6 separate regions of the Homo sapiens genome follow, and all the other regions are linked to region 5. Evidence: promoter capture Hi-C in 16 types of primary human blood cells and fetal thymus (Javierre and others, 2016). All regions are on one chromosome and are shown on one strand. Each heading gives the region's core, a stretch centred on a gene start or on the middle of the fragment in contact. The rest is flanking DNA. Distances are from core to core; before and after follow the strand shown. Region 1 has its middle 18 kb from the start of SLAMF7. Region 2 overlaps SLAMF1 (signaling lymphocytic activation molecule family member 1). Region 3 overlaps LY9 (lymphocyte antigen 9). Region 4 has its middle 19 kb from the start of SLAMF1. Region 5 holds the start of KLHDC9 (kelch domain containing 9). Region 6 has its middle 6.2 kb from the start of CFAP126.

Region 1 (3,691 bases), core at 803-3,302, 340 kb before region 5:
TTACTTGAGGTCAGGAGTTCAAGAACAGCCTGGCCAACATGATGAAACCCCGTCTCTACTAAAAATACAAAAAATATTAGCCGGGCATGGTGGTGAGCCCCTGTAATCCCAGCTTCTTGGGAGGCAGAGGGAGGAGAATTGCTTGAACCCAGGACGGGGAGGTTGCAGTGAGCCAAGATCGCGCCACTGCACTCCAGCCTAGGCGACAGAGCAAGACTCCATCTCAAAAAAAGAATTATGGGTTATACTCAGCATCATGAAATATACCTGTGTAACCTACACATGTAGCTTCTGAATCAAAAATAAAATTAAAAATAACAAATTTTTAGCATGTGCCTGTGGTCCCAGCTACTTGGGAGGCTGAGGCAGGAGGATCTCTTGAACCCGGGAGGTGGAGGTTGCAGTGAGCCGAGATCGCACCACTGCACTCCAGCCTGGATGATAGAGTGAGATTCTGTCTCAAAAAAAAAAAAAAATTGTTTAAAAAAAACTATGGGTTGGCCAGGAGTGGTGGCTCATGTCGGTAATCCCAGCACTTTGGGAGGCTGAAGTAGGAGGATCACTTGACCTCAGGAGTTCAAGACCACCCTAGGCAACTTAGCAAAGCCCCATCTCTACAAAAAAATACAAAAATTAGCCAGGCATGGTGGTGCATGCCTGTAGTCCCAGCTACTCAGGAAGGAGCTGAAGAGGGAGGGTCGCTTGAGCCTGGTAGGTTGAGGCTGCAGTGAGCTATAATTGTGCTACTGCACTCCAGCCTGGGCAACAGAGTGAGACTCTGACTCACAAAACAACAACAACACAACAACTATGGGTTTTCAAGTTAGAAAATGTTATGACATCACAAATATAAAAAGTAGAATGCAAATTTAATGTGCTATATGATTACAGCTGTGTTTTAGAAAAAATCTCTACAGGGAAAAATTTGGAAGAAAAAACATCAAAATAGTAACACCAGTTGTTTAGGGAGGGTGAAAGCTTAGGTGGCTTGGTTTTTTCCTATTTTCATTCATTTTCTGAATATTCCTCAATGAGAAAGTATGTATTGCATAATAGAGTAGAGGAAATTTTAAATAGGTGCTCAGTGAGAAAAACGAGGCACTACTCACTACGTGGGGTTGAGGGGAAAGTCTGAGACCCTCATGGTAAGGGTGTGGGGGAGGATGGAAAGACCTCCTCGAGTGAGAATGGGTGGGGAGAAAGGAGAAACCCTCCACATAATGACAGAGGAGAAGATGACTTTCCCTCAGAGAGGGCTGCTGGAGGCTGAGGGGAGCTTCACAGTGTGTGAAGACAGAGGCGTGGAGAGGGGGATGCTGGGACTGAGGATGCATCTGTTCTGCCTTCCCCTCTCTCCTCAGAACCCATTCAGATGATAAATAATTAGGGTTAATCATACTTTGGGGTTTTTTAAACCAGTGACTGAAACAGGACCTAGGGAGACCAATAGATCTGGTCTCTGGACACTCAATAAATTCTGTCCCAAAGCTAGTTGCAGAAAGAAGCTTCCCCTCATGAGTTCAACCAGTAGGCAAAGGAAACCACCAGCTCTTCAGGGTGAGAAGTCACACCACCTCATAGCCCCATTACATGCAGCCTCCAGAACTGTGTGGTTTGCAACTTGTGAGGTGCAAATAACAAATTCGTAAACATTGAAACCTTGGTGGAAAGTAAAGAAGGTATCTGTACCATTTCAGTAAGGCTTTCACTCATTCATTTGATCATGTATGCATTCATTCATTTATTCATTCAGCAGTACTTATTGAGCACCAGTAAGTGCTGGACATTATGCTGAACTCAGGGAATACAGCAGTGGGCCACAACAGAGGTCTCTGCCCTCAGGGTGCTTACATTCTAATGACAGAGGCCAACACTCAAATATCCTTTAAATAACATGGTTGCAGTGATGACTGCTATGAAAGAGAGGTGTGTGGAGCCAAGAATGGCAAATTTTCCTGTGGTCAGAGACAGTATCTCCAAAGTGATGAAGACTGAGCTGAGATCGGAAGATGAGTAGGAGCTACTTACAAGAAGTGGGAAGGGAAAATAAAACCCTTCTAGCCAGAGGTGCAAAGGCCTTGTGGTGAGAGGACCTAAAAGAACGAAAGTCAGTGTGGCCAGCAGAGAGAGTTGCACTTTTAAAATTTCATTAGTTGCAGTATGGGAAACAGATTGTAGGGGGTCAAGACTGGATGTAGGCAAACTGAGTCAGAAGGCTCTTACCGTTATCCAGGAGAGAGGTGATGGTAGGTTGGACAAGCATAGTAGGATGCAGAGAGAGGGAAGGATGCTCTCAAGAGGTATCTAAGGGATAAGGAGGTTCCTGCTTTCAGTACTGTCTTGGGAATGTGTGCTGATCTGGAAAAGGAGGTGGGAAGATGGGCCTTTGCTTTTGATAGCCTCTTGGGACTAGAAGGACAAAGTTTGGAGTCTGGGGCTACCAAGGTTAGAGAACTGGTAAATCCCTCATCTTTTTGACTTGGGACCCCAAAAGACTTACCCTAGGAGACTTATCCTTCTTGTAAACAAGAAGTACACCAGTTTTAATTCATCTATGGGGCCAAGAAAATCTCAAAACTGGTATTAGATTAAAGAGATCCAAGCTTACGAGTGCCCACAAGTACCTTACAGAAGCAAACAAAGACCATCACTAAAAGAAAATAACATTCTTAGGCCTCACAATTTTCCTACAAATAATTTTTCATAAGCAATGTTCATCATATGTTCAGAGATATCCAGGCCCATGAGGAGGATCCAGGCCCATGGGGATCATCCTCCTCCATGAGGAGACCCATGAGCAAGACCCTCCTGGTGGGGACAGCCTATCACAGACTGCAGCCCAGGATGCAGCCCGGCCCACCTCCCTCTCATTTCATCCCAAGAAGATGGAAGGAGGAACTTCCAGCCTCCTCAGTTCATGTACTTGTAGACAGACTTTAAAGATGTTTGGAGTTCTGACTATAGTCCTAAGCATACTCTTTATTGCAATCTGTCAAGAACATAGCCAGCAACAGGGAAGAGTTGATAAACCATAACATGATCATTTATAATATTTAATGTTTAGTACAGTCACAATTGCCAATCATTGTTCTAAATAATACATATATATATGTGTGCATGTATATACATATGTACATTTATTTAATCTTCATAACAAACATAACCATTTTATAGATGAGGTAGTTGAGACCAAGATTGTCTTTTGTCTAATTGGGTTTTGTGGGTTGTTTTGTTTTGTTTTGTTTTGTTTTGTTTTGTTCGGCTCATATGTATTACTGCTCTAGGCAGTATTAATTAATTGATTAATTTATTTAAAATTTATTATTTTAAAATAAATGCTGGTACTGCTTGTCTTTACTAATTATAAAAGTTATTTTTTCCTGCAATTAAAACTTATTATGCGTCTACAATGTGCTCCCCATACTTCTAAGAGCTCACAATCAAGTGGGAGACAGGGATATCAACAGACATTACAAGTTAAAATGGTAGGTAAGAAAATAAAGGCATATAAGACATATAGGGGGTTGTATTACTCATGGTTTTCCTGAGAAATAGAACCAATAGATTATTTGTAAATATATATAAAAGGAGACTTATTATAGGAATTGGCTCACGCATTAGGAAGGCCAAGAGGTCTCATGATCTTCTGTCTGCGGCTGGAGAACCAAGAAAGCCTGAGGAGTAATTCAGT
Region 2 (4,136 bases), core at 364-2,863, 480 kb before region 5:
CAAAATATAGAACTTACACCTGGTTTCTGGACTTGGGCATAGATCGTAAGGCTTTTTTTTTCCACTGTTGTCTGGTAATGGTTCGTTTTACCTGGTGAAAAGAAACCATAATGGTTATCTCCCTCTGGTCCCCAGCAGGAGCTCCTTACTCAGACCTGGTCTTTACTGTCCTTTGCATACCCACTTTCCCCAAGGGCACAATGGAAACAAAGCCCTGAGTCCCAGCCCCCCTGCACATTTGTCATATTGTCTTAGGTTAGTTACTTGATCACTCTAGGCCTATCTGTGAAATGGGATTTGAAATACCTGCCTCACGGGGCTGTTGTGATAATTAAATGAGATACCACTTGTAAAGTGTTTAGAACACTGCCTGGTGCATAACAAATGCCCAATACGCATTAGGTGTTTTTCTCATTGGTGTACCATTCAATTACTTTAATCTCTGTTGCTCAATGTGCATATCTGGTCTCCTAATAGGATTCTAAGTTCTTTGAGGGCAGGGCTAGTTGTTTATACCTCTTTTGTATTTTCCAGCTGGTAGTATGTTGCTTCACTCACAGCTTTCTCACCTCCCTATTTCTGGGGGAATTGATGTGTGGGAGGTAAGGGCGGGGGGACGTGTAAGAGGGATGTTCCACCTGGGACTATTTAGAAAATAAAGCAACAATGTCATTCTGTTGCCCACCATCTGGAAATTTTGCTCAGGGCCTAGGGTCTCTGGAAATTAATAAGTTGCAGAATATTTTAATTTTTAGCCAATTTTAAAAAGCTTTCTTTTTAAATTATAGGAGTAATTTATTCTCATCATAAAATAAAAATTGTGAAGAAATATATAAAGTATAAAGTAAAAAGTATAAATCCCCTTCTTCCATTAACCAACCCAATTTCATTCCCAAAAGAAACCGTATTTTTCAATACCTGTGAAAAGAAGTGGGAAAAAAAAGAAGAAACCATTTTTAAAAGTTTGATGTATATCCCTGTAGATCAGCTCTGTGCAACAGAACTTTCTGAGATGATGGAAATGTTCCATATCTGCAGTGTCTAATACAGCTTACAGACACGGGGCTATGGAGCACCTGAACTGTGACTAATGTCACTGAATTTTAAATTTTATTTAATTCAAATTAATTTAAATTTAAAAAGCCACATGTGGCTAGTGACTACCATATTAGACAATGCAGTTTTGGATATTTGCTATACTTATATAGACTTTTTTCCACACAAGAGGTGTCATTCTGCACACACTTCTCTGTAACTTGATCTTTTCACTTAAAATGTATTGAGGACATTTTTCATGTTAGCACAGTAGACCTATCTCATTCTTTCTAAAGTTGCACAGTATCCTTTGTATACATCATGCAGCAGTAAGGATGGTGGGAAAGTGGCAGACTGAAGGATGGAGGTTTATTATGGGATTATTGCAAAGTCCAGGCAGAGGCAATGGAGGCTGGACCCAGAAAATCACAGCCTTTAAGGTAGACTTATTTTAACACCAGTTAATTTATTCTCTTAAAAAACTGGGCTGGGTGCAGTGGCTCACGCCTATAATCACAGCACTATGGGAGGCTGAGGTGGGCAGATCACGAGGTCAGGAGTTTGAGACCAGCCTGGCCAACATGGGGAAACCCTGTCTCTACTAAAAATACAAAAATTAGCCAGGCATGGTGGCACGCGCTTATAATTTCAGCTACTCAGGAGGCTGAGACAGAAGAACTGCTTGAGCCCAGGAGACAGAGGTTGCAGTGAGCCGAGATCATGCCATTGCACTCCAGCCTGAGTGACAGAGCAAGAATCTATCTCAAAAAAAAAAAAAAAAAAAAAAAGGCACATCTCTGAGGAAATAGCATTTTTAGGAGAGGCACATTTTTCTTTGGAAGGGAAAGGCCCAGTGTGTATGTGGTGAGCATGGTGGAATGTGCTGCGTGAGGGTGTGAGTCTTGGGGAGGAAATGTGGGGCAGACACTGATGAAGTTCCAGGAATTCAAGGAAAGTCAACATGGGATTTTTTGTGTGTGGGTATGAGCACGGTGTGCCTAGTGGTTTCAACTTCGCTTTTTTGGTCAGAGTTGATCCTGACTGAGGAGTGTGCGTGAGTGCGTGTGTGTGTGTGTGTGTGTGTGTGTGTGTGTAAAATGGAGGGGAGGACTCAAGAAGCAGTTGGAGGTAGCAGAGGAGGTTCAAGTTAGTCCCCACGAGTGTTTGCAAAGTAAGACATGCCTGCCCAGCACTCTCCTAGGTGCTGTAGTGGCTACAAATAGAGTAGAGAACAGACTACAGTCCTCAAAGACTTTCAGTCTTGCAGGTCAGCTCAGAGTCAAATGTAGAACTGGAAGGACAGTCCTAAATGGTCAGACAGATGGAAGAGGTGAGGTTGATTGTTGCTGCTTAAAAGGACCATTGGACCAAGATAATTTAGTCTCAGGTTATTTTCCCCAGTGCAAGAACAGGTTTTTAGGAGTAAGCTTAACTCGGCTCCAAGTCAGCAAGGTCTTAGGCTCTAAGGAAAAAGTCTTGGCCTTAAAATTAGGACATCTACATTGTAGCCATCATTAGCTGTGTGGCATTGGACAAATCACGTCATCTCAATGGGTCTTTTCTCTTACCATAACTGTAAAATGAGGGCATAGAGTATCTAATATCCTTTTCAGCTTTTACCTGAAGCATAAAGTCTTATGTTACCATGACTTAAAATATTTTCAATCTGTTCTAGGTATTGTTTCCAGATGCTTCCAGTGCAGCTTCTCCTGGCCATAGCACTTACACATTGCCATTTTAATTCATCTACACTAAGAGATCTGTCTATCTGTCTATGTATCTATCTGTCTATGTATCTATCTATCTATCACCCATCGATGGGAACCACTGTGTTCAGTGTTTTCTGTGTATTGATACCAATCTCCACCACAATACCATGAAGTACATAGTATTACCCCTGTTTTGCAGACGAGAAGTTAAGTCATTTGATCACACAGCTTGTCAGTAGCAAAATCTGCATCTGAATGTAAGTTTGTCTAATGCCTATACCCACATTCTTTATCAGTGTATTCTCCTGGACATGAAATTGCCAAAGAGTCATGAAATTGAAAAGCCTTCAGCGTCAGGCTGCATTCTGATGATTATAGCATTAGAAGCTGCCAATATAATTTCTTTAGCAAGGTTTTATGAAAGGTGCAGCAACTAAATATAAATTTTACCGCAAGTTTGAGGCAGTTTTGTGTGTTGCTAACTTACAAGGGACAAATGGTGAATGGGGTTGAGGTGAGGATGGGTATGTGTGTTGGGGAAGGTAGTGGGGAATTGTGGGATGGGGAGCACTATTCCCTTAGAGCACAACCATGTGATAAGCCAAGTGTGGTTGAGGAAAGAGTATGGCGTAGGATCCCAGCAATTTTACTAGGTAGGTTAATGTGGATAAGTTAAGTTCAGTTTTCTCATCCTGGGTCATCTCACTATTTCCTTATAGTATGAGCTAAATGTGATTGCCCTACCCCGAGCCCCATAGGCTGTCAACCTAATTTCTATCTGAATCACCCATCCCTCCTACCTGGCTAACTCTTAGATGGAGGAAATGAGACACAAGTAGGTCGCTGTGCTATGATCTAGATTTTTTTATATATGCAAAACCAACATCAGAGTGCTGAGGTAAGGGCTTTTCTAAGAAGGTTGTGTGTAGATGACACTGATCTACTTGAGAATGAAATCAGTCATCAGCTCAGTGTTATGAGGATCAAGTTCTATCCTTACCATGGGAAGGCAGCCGGGGCATCTCTCCTGGTCTTGGGTCAGGACATTTTGACTCCAGTATTGGTTGGTAGTAGTCAAGGTGGCTGAGGGGAGCACAATGCCCTGAGATATTGTATCATAGGGAAATTTGGAAGAGAGGACAGGGGATGGTACCTCTAGGCACTTCAACTGCAGGGGAATAATTGTGCCTTATTGGTTTCATTCTAACCCTGGTGACTTTTTGGATGAGATCCAATAATTTTCTGAATTCTGTTCCCAGTGAATACTCTTAAACCTCTTGTTCACTTCTTCAGCATCCTGTGTTTACCCTGATGGCAGTGCTAGTCACACTAAACTGAAATTATCTGAATAATGTCTCTCACATTAGAAACCTGTGGCTCTTCTATTTCTTT
Region 3 (3,898 bases), core at 1,163-3,662, 290 kb before region 5:
TTTCCCCATTTGGTACAATGCTAATTGTGGAATTGTCATATATGGGCTTTACTATTTTGAGGTATATTCCTTCTATGCCTAGTTTGTTGAGAAATTTTTTCAGGAAGGGATTTGGACTGTATCAAGTGCTCTTTCTATAACCATTGAGATGATCATATGGTTTTTATCCTTCAGTCTATTGATGTGATGTATCACATTTATTGATTTACATACGTTAAACCATCCTTGCATCCCTGGGATAAATCCCACTTGATCATGTATTATCTTTTTGATATGCTGTTGGATTCTGTTTGCTAGTATTTTGCTGAGGATTGTTGCATCTATGTTCATCAGGAATATTGGCCTGTAGTTTTCTTTTTGTTGTTGTGTCCTTGTCTGATTTTGGTATTAGCATAATGCTGGCCTCATCGAATGAGTTAAGGAAAATTCCCCCCACTTTGATTTTTAAGAATAGTTTTAGGAGGATTGATATTAGTTATTATTTGTATATTTGGTAGAATTTGGCTGTGACTCCATCAGTCTCGGGCTTTTCTCTGTTGGGAGACTTTTTTATTACAGATTAATTTCACTACTTGTCGTTGGTGTCTGTTCAGATTTTCTATTTTTTACTGATTCAGTCTTGGTAGGTTGTATGTTTCTAGGAATTTATCCATTTTCTCTAGGCTTTTCAGTTTGTCAGAGTATAGTTGTTCATAATAGTCTCTGACGGTCTTTTGGATTTTGGTCTTTTGTATTCCTGTAATGTCAGTTGTAATGTCTCCACTTTTTCTGATTTTGTTTATTTGGGTCTTCTTTCTTCTTTTCTTAATTAGCCTAGCTAGCAGGTTATTAATTTTGTCTGTCTTTTCAAAGAGCTAACTTTTTCTTTCATTGATTCTTTGCATTTTTTTAGTCCCTACTTCATCGAGTTTTGCTCTGATATTTATTATTTCTTTTCTTCTACTAATTTTGGGCTTAGTTTGTTCTTGCTTTTCTAGCTCCTTAAAGTTCATTGTTACATTATTAATTTGTGATCTTTATACATTTTTCATGTAGGCATTTATTTCTATAAACTTCCCTCAGCACTGCTTTTGCTGTACTCCATAGCTTTTGGTATGTTGTGTTTTTTTTTTCATTTGTTTCAAGAACTTTTTTTAAATTTCCATCTTAATTTCTTTGTTGACCCAATGGTCAGGAGCATGTTGTTTAATTTCCATGTATTTGTATCATTTCCAAAGTTCCTGTTAATATTGATTTCTAGTTTTATTCCATTGGGATTGAAAAGATATTTGATATGATTTCAATTTTTTAAAATTTGTTGAGACTTGTACTGTGGTCTAACAAATAGTTTATCCTGGAGAATGCTTCATCTACTAATGAAAAGAATGTATATTCTGCAACTGTTGGATAGAATGTTCTGTAAATATCTGTTAGGTCCATTTGGTCCAAACTCCAATTTAAATCCAATGTTTCTTTGTTGATTTTCCATCTAGAAGCTCTGTCTAATGCTGAGAGTGGAGTGCTGAAGTCCTCCACTACTATTCTGTTGCAGTCTCTCTCTCTCTGTCTCACACACACACACACACACACACACACACACACACACACACTCTTACTCTCACTCTCTCTCTGGTAATATTTGCTTTATGAATTTGGGTGCTCCAGTGTTGGGTGCATATACATTTAGAGTTGTTATATCCTCTTGCTGGATTGATCCCTTCATCATTACATAATGGCATTCTTTGTCTTTTTTTTTTTTTTTTTTTTTTACTGTTTTTGACTTAAAGTTTGTTTATTTGATATAAATATAGCTAGCTATTCCTGCTTGCTTTTGGTTTCCATTTGCATGGAATTGTTTTTCCATTTCTTTACTTGTAGTCTATATATCTTTACTGTTAAGGTGAATTTTCATGTAATTAACATATAGATGGATCATGTTTTTAAATCCATTCCACCATTCTACATCTTTTAAATGGATAATTTAATCCATTTACATTCAGAGTTACTATTGATATGTGAAGCTTTTTCCTGTATACTGTTAATTATTTTCTGGTTGTCTCATATATTCTTTGTTTCTTTCTCTCTTATTGTTTGTCACTGTGGTTTGGTGGGTATCTGTAGTGACATCATTCAAGTCCTTTCTCTTCACCCTTTGTGTGATTGCTTTACAAATGAGTTTTATACTTCTGTGTGTTTCCATCATGGTAAATGTCATCTTTTGCTTCTGGGTTTAGGATTCCCTTGAGCATTTCTTGTAAGACCCCATCTAGTGGTAACAAATTCTCTCAGCATTTGCTTGTCTGGGAAACGCTATTTCTCCTTTTTTATGAAGAATAATTTTCCCAGATATAGTATTTTTGGTTGACTCTTTGAATATATTATTCCATTTTCTTCTGGCCTGCAAAGTTTCTGCTGAGGAATCCACCATTAGCCTGCTGGGCTTTCATTTATAGGTGGCTAGATGTTTTTCTCTTACTGTTTTTATGATTTACTCTTTGACTTTAGATAGTTTGACTGTGATGTGTCATGGAGATCTTTTTGCATTGTATTTTCCTGGGAATTGCTGAGCCTCCTGTATCTGGATGTCTAAGAGTCTTGCTAGACTTGGGGAGTTTTCTGCTATTGTTTCATTAAATACATTTTCTAATCAGCTCTTTGTCTCTTTGCCCTCAGGGATGAAATAATTTGAATATTTTATCACTTTATGAAGTCCCAAATGTAACAAAGGTTTAGCTCATTCTTTTTTATTCTTTTTATTTATTTATTTTTTGTTTGGCTGAATTATTTCAAAAGACCTGTCTTCAAGTTGTGAGATTCTTTCTTCAGCCTAATCTAGTTTATTGTTGAAGCTTTCAAGTATATTTTGTATTTCCTTCAGTGAAATCTTCAATTCCAGAATTCTATTCATTCTGTTTTTTAAATATCTATCTCTTTGGTTAATTTGTCATTCATATCCAAAATTGTTTTTCTGATTTCTTTGTATTGTTTTTCAGAATTCTCTTGTATCTCACTGAGCTTCTTCTTATTTTTTTAAGTTACTTTCATGGGGAGGTCTTTTTCCTGAATATGTGTCTATTGTGTTGTTGGGGTAGGGCACTCTGGCTTTGATTCTGGGTGCATGCAGTAGTATAGTATTTGTATGATTTATTTGGCTGTAAATAACATTAGTGGTATCTGTGATTTCCTCAGTAGGTCAGAGTGTGTTTATTAGCAGAGGCTGTGGTGAAGTTGCGCTGAGGATTGAAATGTCAAGTGGGCCAGTCATCAGGCCACAGTGGTGGCAGCATACCTATCTTTGTGCCTCAAGGCAGTGTATGCTGTCACTTGTGTTTATGCTTATCAGCAGGTCGATTTTTAGGTCTCCAGGTGGCTTGCTCAGATACCGATAATGGCAGCAGTGGACTGAAGGGTGGTGAGCAGGCTCTCAGGCCCCCTGGCAGTCAGTGTGGCATGGGGAATGACAGTAGTGGGATGATTCTCTGGGTCCCAAGCAGTGTGCATTGATGTTGATGGTGGCTGCAATGGCCTGGGCAGACCAGTCTCCAGGACCACAGGTGGCACTTGCAGGTAGGTGGTAGTGGCTGGGAGTTAGGCCCACCCTAGGCCCCTGTGGAAAAATGCTCAGGTGCCCAAGGCAGTGGATTGGGTTGGGCAATCCCCAAGATGCTGGCCTATGTGTTCTCTTTCCAAGGGGGAAGGGGGAAGCCAGGCTGAGTGGGCTTGCACTCAGGCCCCCCAGTGGTGAAAGCAAACACCAGCTATGGTATGTGGAAGCAGGGCCATCCTCAGGCCCCAGGCAGAGTGCTCAGGTGAGGACAGTAGCCGCCACCGTGAGGCCCTGCCACTGGAGAAGGTGAGGCCAGGTTCAGTGGCCACAGCCTTGGATGGCAGATGGGGAATATGCATCCCTCTCAGCCTC
Region 4 (4,012 bases), core at 909-3,408, 430 kb before region 5:
GGCAACAAGAGTGAAAATCTGTCAAAAAAAAAAAAAAAAAAAAAAAAAGAAAGAAAAGAAAAGATTACTTTGGCCTTAGTGTGAGAGAAATTTAGGTAGACCTACAGGCTAGGAACAGATTTGAAGAAATGATGGGTCTTAACTGGAGAAGTAGCAATGAGGTGGGAGAGAAGGAGATCCATTGGAGAGTTATCTCATAGGTGGATTTTTCAGGGTTTGGTGACTTATTGAATGTGGGCTGTGAAGGAGAGTGGCCTATATACTATGGCCTTTACACTTCCAGTTCAGTTTCCCAGTAGATGGCAATGCCATTCTCTAAGAAAGGAAGTATAAGAGGTGGAGATAACTTAGGGGCAAAATTGAGAGCAAGGGGTATAAGATTATTTGTTGGCTTGGGATATGGTCAGTTTAAATGTTTACGGTTCATGCATATGGAGATTTCCAGGGGCTATTTGAAAACACAGAGCTGACTTTGAGAGGAGAAGTATAATCTGAAGGAAAGCAAACAAATATAGAAGTCATATTTTCAACTCCTTCATTTCACCCCAAGAAAGCTAATACTTAGAGACTAAAACTTCTAAGGGACTTACCATATGGCTAGTTTTTGAAAAGCCGTAACCAGAAACCAAATCTCTTGGGTTTAGGTCAATCCACCCATATCCTGATTGAGTTTCATTATGCTCTATTTACCTTCATGGTTCCCCAATCTAACAATGCCTGGCATACAGCAAGTGCTAAAAATGTTTGTGGAATGAATATACTGATTGTGGCCTTTTTTGGTGGGGGTAGAACTGGCCCCACACCTTCACATCATCACTGGAATTATGCCTCAGAAGCATCTTGGAAGTCAGCAGACCTAGGGAAGTCCTACTTAGCCATGAAATTTGCATTTCCCCAGGTACCTCCCAACCCCTCTCCACTTCCTCTGAGAGCAAAACCTCCGTTGTTCATGTCACACCCATGGGCAGCCTTTGTGCTCAGTACACAGACCTGATTGAGAAGATTGATAAAAGCAAAATAGAAAGAAGCCGTGATCTGGGTCATATGAGTTATACAACCATTTCCCTCTTATTTTACACTTGGGGAAACTTAAGCTAAGAGATCTTGTCTTAATTCATTAAAATTAGAGTTGCCAGCCCAGAAGAGAGGAAGGAGAAGTTTGGGACAGAGGAAGGCAACTAATACTTATTGAGCACTTACTGTATGGCAGACTTTATGTGGAATGATTTATTGAGGTTATCTCATTTAATCCTGATTTTAAAAATCATCCACATACGGAAACCGAGGTTTAGAAAGTTTACTTTTCCTGAGGTTCAGAAGCTGGTAAATGACGGTTCTGGAACTCAAACTCAAGGCTGTCTGGCTCCAAAGGTCATGCTCCTTCCCCTATACCACACAACCTCCCAGAAGCTTGAAATGTGGTTCTGGGTACTAGGTATAAGCTTGAAGACCAACCAAACATGCTCATTCCAGTGCTCTCTCTAGGAGCCAACAAGCCCTCCAACATTGCCCCCCTAGAAGGTCCTGCAAAATTGAGTTGTCTAGGGTTTGACAGAGTCCAGAAGACATTTTCGAACATAAGAAGGGCAATGGGTCAAGCCCCAGGGAGTACCCAGTAGTATCAACAAAGAAAGGAGAATGTGTATTTGACTTCCAGCCTCAGCCCTGCTGGTAACTTGCCAGACGGCCTTGGCCTGGCCACTTCCTTCCTGTCCTCCACCAAGATTACAGAAAATTAGGAAATGCAAATTTTATGGGCTTCCCTGCTGACGATTTCTAAGTCTTCTTTGTAGTAATCATTCCTATCACAAAGAGGGTGGGAAACGGTGATTATGGACCAGGGAGAGAGTCCTATTCCTAAGAAGTGGTTCTTGGACTTTGGAGAGGCAACAATTGGTTTGAGTCTTAACAAATGAGTGGGAGTTTGTTAGGTCAACGAGGAGTGGGAGGGGATTCCAGGAAGTGTAAAAGCTTGAGCAAAGGCATTGAGTAAATTCGGGGAACTGCTAGCAGTTCAGGAAGGTTGCAGCATTCAGTGCAAAGGAGGGGCCAAACTAGAAATTGGACAGGAGAAAATCACAGAAACCAAGCCACATAAGGATCAGTAGAACCCTGTAGGCTCTCCAACGAGCCTATCCTTGAAGGATTTAAGCATGAAAATGTTGTCATTATTAAACCTAGGCTTTAAAGAGGTCCTTCTGCTCTGTGTTGCTGTCCTCTGCCAGAGATAGCAAGACTGACAGAGGCTGTGCTCCTGTAGCCTGGGAGCCAGAATGGAGAGACACATTGGGCAGAGCCCGGCAGAGTCACAGGAACTTGTAGTCCCCATCTGTTTATTATTCATGGAAGCTTTCTCCTTTTCTTGATTGGATCAACAGAAAAATAAACTGTCGTCTTTGGCAGATGATTCAATGGGAATTCAAGGGTTTCAATGGGAATTCAAGGTTGAAAATGATAATGTACTCTGAGAACTCACAGGTCTATAAAAGGAGAGGCCTATACAAGGAAAGAAGAGGATGTGGTAAATGCAGAACAGACCCTCAGCATCTTGAAGGACCATCAAGGGGAAATAAGTATTGCAGACCTTTCATTAATCTGTGTAGTTAACTTTTTATTTGAAAATAATGTCAAAAGAGCTGCAAGAAAAAATTATTATTAATAATAGTACAAAGAACACGCTTATAAATATCCTGCAGGGAGGGGTCTACAAGTTGGCTGTGACTGTGAATACCTCTCTGTAATGTTTTGCCCATTTTGCTTTAATATTAGCTAGTTCTCTCTCTCTCTCTCTTTCTGTCTCTATTTGAACTATTATAGGGTAGGTTGCATATGGCATGGCTCTTTATCTTAAATACATCAGTGTAAAGAATTAGGATAATTTCTGACACAACTACAATATAGTTATCACTTAAGTAAATTTTACATTGATAACAATATTCTTGTCTAACCTACTGTTTGCATTTCAATTTTGTCGGTTGACCCTTTGTAACCATAATTTTCCCTCCAGGTCAGGATCCAGTCCAGTATTAGGTATTGCATTTAGTTGTTGTATCTCTTTAGTACCCTTCAACTGTAACATTTCCACAGCTATATCTTCTCCTTTATGACATGGATATATTTGAAGAATGCAGTCTTCCCACCCTTTCCCTTTTTTTTTTTTTTTCTTGAGGTGGAGTCTTGCTCTGTCACCCAGGCTGGAGTGCAGTGGTACAATCTCGGCTCACTGCAATCTCCACCTCCCGGGTTCAAACGATTCTTCTGCCTCAGCCTCCTGAGTAGCTGGCATGCACCACCACACCCAGCTAATTTTTTTGTATTTGTATTTTTAGTAGAGATGGGGTTTCACCATGTTGGTCAGGCTGGTCTCAAACTCCTGACCTCATGATCCGCCTGCCTCAGCCTCCCAAAGTCCTGGGATTACAGCCTCTCTTTTTTAATAGCAAATTCCTCACTTGGGGTTTTTTGGTATTTCCTTATGATTAGATTCACATTATGCATTCCCAGACTAGGTACTACACAAGTGACATTGTACCCTCAAGGTATCACATCTAGAGACCCTTGATGTCTTCTCATCGATAATGTTAATTTTAATCACCTGGCCAATATATTGCCAACAGATTGCCAGATTTCTCTATTGTATAGTTATCTTTTTTGATTTTAACTAATAACTATGTGTTGGCATACAGTGGAAGGCCATGCAGACATCTTACTCCTCATCAAAATTTCCTCTGAGATTTAGCATCCATTGATAATTTTTGCCTGAGCCTGTCTTAATTGTGATAGTTACAAAATAATAACTTTCTTCACTTTAGCACCTCACTCCATATTTGGCATTCTATTGCAAGCAAGAACCCTCCCTTTATCTATCTGATCTATCGCATCTGTCTTCTCTAGTCAGTTTTGGTAGTCTGTGTGATTCTTGAAATTTTTCCATTTCGTCTAATTTATTTCCATACAATTGTTCATACTATCCCCCTTGTAATCATTTTTATTCCTTTAAAGTCAATAGTAA
Region 5 (3,767 bases), core at 1,198-3,697:
GTAAGAGCTTTGTGAAAGTTTGAGGCAAGGGGGCGTAGATTTGGGGCTAGGATAGACATCTAAGGCTAGGTAGGAAGCTGGGTGCTTGCTTGCTAGAGATCATATAGACTCTTGGCCAACTGAGACAAAGCCAACATCAGGGGATCACATCAGGATTACGAGACTTTCAGGATATCCAGTCCCTGCTCTCATTTCTGGACAGAGGTTGTCCCTGGATATTATTAGCAGGTGAAAGCAGGTTCACAGCCCTGGCTGCCCTTTTCCCTGTCTCTCACAATTTTCTCTCAGTTCCCCCTTTCACTTATCTTAATGCCCTTTCAGTTTGTGTATCATTGACAAGGTCATTATAGACCACTGCAGATGCTGTCCTGCGGTGTGAAGCATGTGTCATACAAGTCCAGGTTGGCTGGTTTGCTTTCTTCCTCTCTCTGTTTCTCTCTTTCTGGCTTCTTTTCTCCCTCCTCCAAAATATGGATTTGGTTCAAACTAACCTAAGAAGGTAGGAGTCCTAGGCAGTTCCTCTCCCAGGGTCTTGGGATGGCAAAGCAATGGACAGATGCTTCCAGCTATTAGGAGGAACTGGAAGCATCTAGGTACAGAACTGGAGAGGGTACAGCCAAGGAGTATGTGAGGTTCAAGCTCTATGTCTAACTAAGATGCCTACTGCTAAGGACTCAGAGTCAGAGAGGAAGCTGGGAGAGAGGAGCTGGAAAGGCCCGTGGGGTGGGGAGTTCCCATTTCTATCCAGGAAAGGCAGAAAGTAAGTCTAACAGAACAGCCAAGACTTAGGCAAAAGCAAGAGCCTAAAATGGACATATAGGCCAATAAGGTTTAAGCAAAATTGCCCCACCCCTGAGGCAAGCCCTTGCCTAATCCTAGGAGTATGACAGATCTGAATCCAGCTGTTGGGAGGTTAGCCAGTGAGAAAGAAGCCTGAGGGAAAAGACTGACTTTTAAATTTCAGCCAAGGACAGTAAAAGTTAGTGATTTTTTAGAGATTCTTACCATGATTTTGGAAAACTGAGAATACTGCCTGTCATACTCAGGGAAAGCTATAGTTGGGAGGGCAGAGACTTTCAAAGCTATTGTTGAATCTTGGCTTTAAGGTACAGGTGGGGAACAGGTCCTGGTAATCTTCCAATCTCTGTAACTGTGCCTTTCCTGCCCATGCCATCCCCATGCTGTGTTCTCTGAGGACCAAGAGTTGGGAAGAGGAGGGGAAAGCCCTGCTGTGCTATCAGACCCTGCATTACATGCCCATCCTCACTGCAGCCCTGGCCACTGTCTCCTTTCTTCCTTTCTTTATTTCTTTTCTTTTTTTCTTTCTTTCTTTCGCCAGGGTCTCACTATGTTACCCAGGCTGGTCTTGAACTCCTGAACTCCTGGCCTCAAGTGATTCTCCTGCCTGGCCACTTTCTATGGTCTCAGTATCTCAGGTATGATGGGGAGCAAGGTGATGTGTAGAAACCAAAGGCCACAAGTAGCAGTCATCATTCCCACTTACAGCCCAGTCCCAGAGGACACAGATCCTGTTTTTGCCCCACACCAGCTGTGTTGGGAGGAAAATTCTGTCTGTATTTCCTCCTTCAGCTGAAAGCAGAAAGCTTGCATCTGGGCCTCTTCAGTTATCACTTGGTCCTGGGGGACAGAGTTAATATCTGGAAACTGGCTTAAATAAAAGATATCAGGGAAGGGTAGGAGTCTGTTTTTCTCATTTTCTCACTCTTCCCCCACTTCACCCTTCTAAGGCTGCGTGGGTTCTCTCTCTCTCTCTATCTCTCTCTCTCTCTCTCTCTCTCTCTCTCTCTCTCTCTCTCTCTCTCTGTGTGTGTGTGTGTGTGTGTGTGTGTGTGTGTGTGTGTGTCACCTGAGAGACTGGGTTCTGCTACCCTCTAGTGGCCAGAGCTGAAAGGACTCTCCCACCCAATCAATCGGGACCTTCAAGCCTTTGGGAATAAACGAACAGCCTATTTGATGAATGACAAAACTGAGAAGGCCTAGAGAGAAACAATGCCTTTGAGGGTCAGGGGCATAGTTGGGACTAGAACCCAGGTCTCCTGTCTCTCGGGCCAGTGGTCAGTCCACTTTCACTTCCCCACCCTCTGACTTTTGCTTCTCCTTCCTTGCTCATCCCTGGGGTGGTTAGCCCGAGTAAGAAACCCTGAAGCCAAATGATCCCTCCCGGCCCTAGTGGAGCAGCACCTGCACCTCAAATGTCAAAATCGCAAATCAGTTCACAGCGGAGATCACAGGGGTTTATTCTAAGGACCCGACTGTCCTCCGACTTTCTGAGGTTAACAATCTTGCAGGATTTTTATTGACCTGATACAGCTCCCGTAGCCTTGGTGGCACCACCATACGGTTCCCGATAGCCACCCAGGTGTCCTGTCTCCACGGTAACTGCTGCTTTGCGACCTTCGGTTTGCAGCGGTCGCGCTGCAGCCGCTGCAGTGGTTGCTGGGCGACCACGGAGAGAAAGCCGGGACTTGAGGTGGGAACCCCGGCTGGCGTCCGGTAGGGGGAGGTTCCCGGGGAAGCCCGCGGAAGGCGAGGTGCCTGGCCTGCCATGTAGGGGCTCGTTCCAAGCCGCAGACCCCACCGCCCTCCCTCTCCCCGGGGCCCATGGCGGTGGCCGTGCCCCCGGGTCGGGCCGCAGGCTCAGGCTGGGCCTGGAGGCCAGTGGCGCGGGACGCGCTTTTGGCTAGAGCTTTCCATTCATGCACCGAACTGCGGGGACGGTTCTATCTCGTAGGTGGTCTCCTAGCAGGAGGAGCGAGAGAGCCCAGCAGCGATACGGTGGTTTTCGACCCAGCTAGGGGCCAGGCCGTACGATTGGGAGCCCGGGGCAGCCCCCCGCGCAGTCACCACGACGCGGCACCCGTGGACGGGCGTTGGCTCTGCGTGGTGGGCGGCTGGGACGGGTCTCGCCGCTTGGCCACAGTGACCGCACTGGACACAGAGCGCGGTGTGTGGGAGGCGTGGACAGGGACCCCTGGTGACTGCCCCCCCGCCGGCCTCAGTAGTCACACCTGCACCCGAATCTCTGACCGAGAGCTGCAGGTGGCTGGCCGGGAGGGCGGTATCCACACTCAGCGACGCTATGGAAGCATCTACACATTAAGGCTGGACCCCAGCGCCCGCACCTATTGGTATGGCACCCTCCGCCCAAAACCTTTCACTCTCATCCACACTCTCGAAAAACAAAAGCCTAAGCAGATTTCTCAGGCAATTTATCCACCTCCTCACTCTAGCACCCTCCTTCCAGGGGAACCTACCATGTTTAAGCTAGCTGAGCTCTCTACAGTATTACCCTCCCTCTTATCCCACCTACCGCACTGCCCCATGCCTCTTCTCCATCCATCCTTGGCAAGGGCGGTGGCACTTACATTTTCCAGAAAACCCACTCAGCCCTGAATTTCTGCATGTCCACAGCTACAAGCAAGAAGGCTGCCACACAGCCTCACGCTCAGGTCACTGTGCGGCCCTGCTCCAAACTCCTGGACCCCATCCAGGTCATCAGCTATTGCTCTTTGGAGGTTGCAACTTAGCTGAACCAGAAGTAGCTGGGCATTGGAGTCATGGGAAAATTAAGGTATTAGCTCCTCACACATCTTGTTTAGGATGGGAAGAGGCTAAAATTGTGATGCCCAGGTCTCTTCGGACAGTCCTTTCTTTCTCCCCAAGGAGGAACCACCTGTTGCTCCTCATTTGATGGAACAGCTTGCAAGGCTTGTGAGCAGTGGGCAGGGGTCCCAGAAGGGGCCCCA
Region 6 (4,167 bases), core at 639-3,138, 280 kb after region 5:
TATTCCCTAACATATTTGGGTCTGTTTCTGGATCCTCTAACCCACTGTTCTAGAGAGAAAGGTGATCGTTTTAGATTATTTGTCTCTCTGTAATCTAAAATCCAAGGTACACGCTGGGCACAGTGGCTCACACGTGTAATCCTAGCACTTTCGGAGGCTGAGGCAGGTGGAACAGTTGAGGACAGAAGTTCGAGACCAGCCTGACCAACATGGCGAAACTCTGTTTCTACTAAAAATACAAAAATTAGCTGGGCATGGTGACACGTGCCTGTAGTCCCAGCTACTCGGGAGGCTGAGGCAAGAGAATCGCTTGAACCCGGGAGGTGGAGGTTGCAGTGAGCCGAGATTGCGCCACTGCACTCCATCCCCCGGGCGACAGAGTGAGACTCCATCTCAAAAAAAAGAAAAAAAAAGGCCAGGCGCGGTGACTCACGCCTGTAATCCCAGTACTTTGAGAGGCTGAGACGGGAGGATCACGAGATCAAGAGATGGAGACCATCCTGGCCAACATGGTGAAACCCCGTCTCTACTAAAAATACAAAAATTAGCTGGGCGTAGTGGCGCGCGCCTGTAGTCCCAGCTACTCCAGAGGCTGAGGCAGAAGAATCGCTTGAACCCGGGAGGCGGAGGTTGCAGTGAGCCGAGATTGCGCCACTGTGCTCCAGCCTGGCGACAGAGTGAGACTCCGTCTAAAAAAAAAAAAAAAAAAATCCAAGGTGGAGTCCTGGCTTGATCCTATGTGAATTCTAATATTTAAGATTTCAGGCCGGGCGCGGTGGCTCAGGCCTGTAATCCCAGCACTTTGGGAGGCCCAGGGGGGTGGATCACAAGGTCAGGAAATCGAGAGCATGCTGGCTAACACGGTGAAACTCCGTCTCTGCTAAAAATACAAAAAATTAGCCCGGCGTGGTGGGGGGTGCCTGTAGTCCCAGCTACTCGGGAGGCTGAGGCAGGAGAATGGCGTGAACCCGGGAGGTGGAGCTGGCAGTGAGCCGAGATCGCGCCACTGCACTCCAGCCTGGGCGACAGAGCGAGACTCCGTCTCAACAAAAAAAAGATTTCACTAGGAAATTGTAATATCAGTAGTAACAGGCAATTTTAAGCTTCTAATAAAAGTGTATTGAATTTTAGCCTTTCTTCAGATGAACTGGTTGACTTCAGGTACAGCAGATGGTCTTTTACTAGGACCAGATTTACTTCTTCCAAAGTTGGAAGGGCTCTTTAAAGGCCCCATCCTTTACGTATGCCTTAAGATACTTTTTTCCATTCACTTAAATTCTTTGATGACTGAAACTAAACCATTAGGAAATCTTTTATTTGGACTGAGATTATCTGCTATTGAAGTACAAGTTTAACCTGTACTCTATAGGCGATGTGTACATTGGACCTACGTGAAGGCAACCACCAGCATAAGTACTAGAGTCACATTGCCTGGATTAAATTCTGGCTTTGCCTAAATGTGTGGCCTTACACAAGTTAATCTTTCTGGGTCTCAGTACCCTTACATGTAAAATGGGGATAATCTTAGTTTTGAGCATTAAATATATGTAACATGCTAATAGGGTGCAAGATGCATAATGAATGCTCAATTATTTTAGCATTATTATTGGCTTAAGACTGCCAAGTAAGAAGTACTCATTCAGGTTACCTTAAACAAAAAAGGGGAAGTGGGGAAATTATAATTAATAGGAGTATTTAACAGATTCCAAAGGTAGGAAGTATAGTTTGGGCTTCAAAGGATACTAGAATTTCAAAGATAGAACATGATCAGAAAGATTTTCTGTTTCTTCTTTATCATCTCTGTTTCTCACTGCCTTTATTCTTTTCTTTTCTTTTTTTTTTTTTTTTTGAGATGGAGTTTCGCTCTTGTTGCCCAGGCTGGAGTGCAATGTGCGATCTCGGCTCACCGCAACCTCCGCCTCCCGGGTTCAAGCGAGCGATTCTCCTGCCTCAGCCTCCCGAGTAGCTGAGATTTTAGGCATGCACCACCACACCCGGCTAATTTTGTATTTTTAGTAGAGACAGGGTTTCTCCATGTTGGTCAGGCTGGTCTCGAATGCCTGACCTCAGTTGATCCGCCCACCTCAGCCTCCCAAAGTGCTGGGATTACAGGCGTGAGCCACCGCGCCCGGCCTCCCATGGCAATTTTTAAAACCAGAAAAAATTATTAGTAACCCCTTCATAGTAAAAATGGGGCATTTATCTCATCTATTACACAGTGTAACCACCTGAATCACTGTCTCTAGTTATACCATCAGCTCTCTACTAAGGTTTCTTCTAAGTAGCTCCAAGGTGCCCTCCATGTCACCTCACTGGGTCAGGTGTTGATGGGTCTTGGATAGGAGACCTGGCTTTTGCCCCATTTCCTGGGCTAACAGGATTTCATCCAACCAAGCTACTGGCCAAATTTTGAACTATTCAAACACCCTGGTTTTTGTAGATTTCCTTATAGGAAATGAAGGCGTAGTTCTGACCCCTGAAGAGATGCATGGCTACAAATGTAAAAGCTATAGTTTCAAAACTTCTCTATAGAGTTAAAATAGCTGATCCAGTTTTCTTTCCTGAGACTAAGGCTCCCTCTCTCGGAGACTGCTGTTACATCTCTCCTTTCCACTGACAATACCACAAAAGAATAATATTCTTGATAAGATCCCCTTCCTGAGGAGCCAAAGAACAAGCTTTGTATACTCCCCACACACTGCCTATGGGGTAGCCCTCTCTGCAGCATTCATAGAGCTATTTAACACTATTTCTTTTTCTTTTCTTTCATTCCTTTTTTTTTTTTTTTTTTTTTGAGACAGAATCTTGCTCTGTTGCCCAGGCTGGAGTGCAGTGGCACCATCTCAGCTCACTGCAACCTCCGCCTCCCAGGTTCAAGTGATCCTCCTGCTTCAGCCCCCCTCCATAGCTGGGATTATAGGCACACACCAGCATGCCCTGCTAATTTTAGTATTTTTAGTAGAGACAGGGTTTCGCCATGTTGGCCAGGCTGGTCTGGAACTCCTGACGTCAGGTGATCCACCTGCCTTGGCCTCCCAAAGTCGTTGGATTACAGGCGTGAGCCACTGTGCCTGGCCTATAACACTATTTCTTAAAACAAAACAAAAAGACCAAAGAACAAGCTTTAAACAACCAAAATGACTGAAAAGACATCAGTATCTCTCACTAGTGGTGTGAATTAAGTTTGTTTACTTGCATAACTAAGAATAAATGATGGTTATAATGGCACCAGTATAGGATATCTTGGCTATGTGCTTTAACAATATACAGGTTGACCATGAAGTCTGGAAATAGATACTATTATTTTATCATGTATTTAAATATATTAATAAACCATTAATATGTATTCATTAACTTTTCCACATTTCTTGGCAATCTTGTAAATATAGTACAACTATCAGTAAAGAGAGATTAGGGGGCTGGGCACGGTGGCTCACGCCTGTAATCCCAGCTTTTTGGGAGGCTGAGGCAGCGGATCACTTGAGGTCAGGAGTTCAAGACCAGCCTGGGCAGCATGGTGAAACCCCGTCTCTACTAAAAATACAAAAACTAGCCAGCTGTGGTGGCACACGCCTGTAGTCCCAGCTACTTGGGAGGCTGAGGCAGGAGAATTACTTGAATCCGGGAGGCGGAGGTTGCAGTCAGCCGAGATCGTGCCGCTTTAGTCCAGCCTGGGCGACAGAGCGAGACTCCGTATCAAAAAGAAAGAAAGAAAGGGTTTAAATAAAGAAAGAGAGAAAGAATGGGTTTACCTACCTATTAAAAGAAAATAGTTTTCACATTGACAAAGCAAAGTCCAACACTGTGCTATATAAAAGAGCTACATCTAAGAAGAGTTTCAGGAAGCCTAAATAAATGACTAAGAGATGTACCAGAATTTATTCCTAAATGTAAGCAGGGGTTGCAGTTGTAATTATCCATCAAAGTAGAATTCTGACTAAAAAGCATTACTTTTAATGAGAAAAGAGAAAGAAATTTTAGCCACAATTTTTATAAAGATAATGACATTTTATACAAGGAGAAATAGAAGCACACTATAATAGGAGGACTAACAAATCCCTCAGATCTAGAAAGGTCAAGTGAACAATAAGTTAGGATACAGAAGACCTAAACAACATAATAAATATATTTAAGTAGATTTAATAATATTAAACTCTGAACCTTAAT

The links. Contacts are between HindIII fragments. The CHiCAGO score rates a contact against its expected background, and 5 or more counts as called.
Region 1: a contact is called between a fragment that was not itself captured here and the fragment with the promoter of KLHDC9 in region 5, in 1 of 17 cell types (naive B cells). The highest score is 5.6, in naive B cells.
Region 2: a contact is called between a fragment that was not itself captured here and the fragment with the promoter of KLHDC9 in region 5, in 1 of 17 cell types (total B cells). The highest score is 5.1, in total B cells.
Region 3: a contact is called between a fragment that was not itself captured here and the fragment with the promoter of KLHDC9 in region 5, in 2 of 17 cell types (total CD8 T cells and activated CD4 T cells). The highest score is 5.8, in total CD8 T cells.
Region 4: a fragment that was not itself captured here is called in contact with the fragment with the promoter of KLHDC9 in region 5 in 3 of 17 cell types (naive B cells, M2 macrophages and erythroblasts); the score reaches 6.0 in naive B cells.
Region 6: a fragment that was not itself captured here is called in contact with the fragment with the promoter of KLHDC9 in region 5 in 3 of 17 cell types (total B cells, naive B cells and megakaryocytes); the score reaches 5.6 in total B cells.

Annotation. Positions count from the first base shown.
Region 1 is chr1:160,754,990-160,758,680 of GRCh38, forward strand. No RefSeq gene overlaps it. Among named protein-coding and RNA genes, the nearest start is that of SLAMF7, 18 kb to the left of the region's middle. RefSeq lists an enhancer at 503-552 and a silencer at 2,103-2,172. The HindIII fragment of the contact is 1,098 bases long and covers 1,504-2,601 here.
Region 2 is chr1:160,619,759-160,623,894 of GRCh38, forward strand. It overlaps SLAMF1 (signaling lymphocytic activation molecule family member 1), which reads right to left. Exons shown (of 7, transcript NM_003037.5): 5 at 18-91. Among named protein-coding and RNA genes, the nearest start is that of SLAMF1, 25 kb to the right of the region's middle. The HindIII fragment of the contact is 1,693 bases long and covers 768-2,460 here.
Region 3 is chr1:160,804,194-160,808,091 of GRCh38, forward strand. The region is part of intron 2 of LY9 (lymphocyte antigen 9); the gene reads left to right. Among named protein-coding and RNA genes, the nearest start is that of LY9, 10 kb to the left of the region's middle. The HindIII fragment of the contact is 828 bases long and covers 1,999-2,826 here.
Region 4 is chr1:160,663,996-160,668,007 of GRCh38, forward strand. No RefSeq gene overlaps it. Among named protein-coding and RNA genes, the nearest start is that of SLAMF1, 19 kb to the left of the region's middle. RefSeq lists enhancers at 1,426-1,485, 1,499-2,060. The HindIII fragment of the contact is 378 bases long and covers 1,970-2,347 here.
Region 5 is chr1:161,095,914-161,099,680 of GRCh38, forward strand. KLHDC9 (kelch domain containing 9) reads left to right here and starts at 2,448. Exons shown (of 4, transcript NM_152366.5): 1 at 2,448-3,149; 2 at 3,433-3,592; 3 at 3,685-3,767. The coding sequence starts at 2,623. RefSeq lists silencers at 2,582-2,761, 2,822-2,871. The HindIII fragment of the contact is 8,697 bases long and covers 1,603-3,767 here.
Region 6 is chr1:161,371,987-161,376,153 of GRCh38, forward strand. No RefSeq gene overlaps it. Among named protein-coding and RNA genes, the nearest start is that of CFAP126, 6.2 kb to the left of the region's middle. The HindIII fragment of the contact is 1,575 bases long and covers 1,102-2,676 here.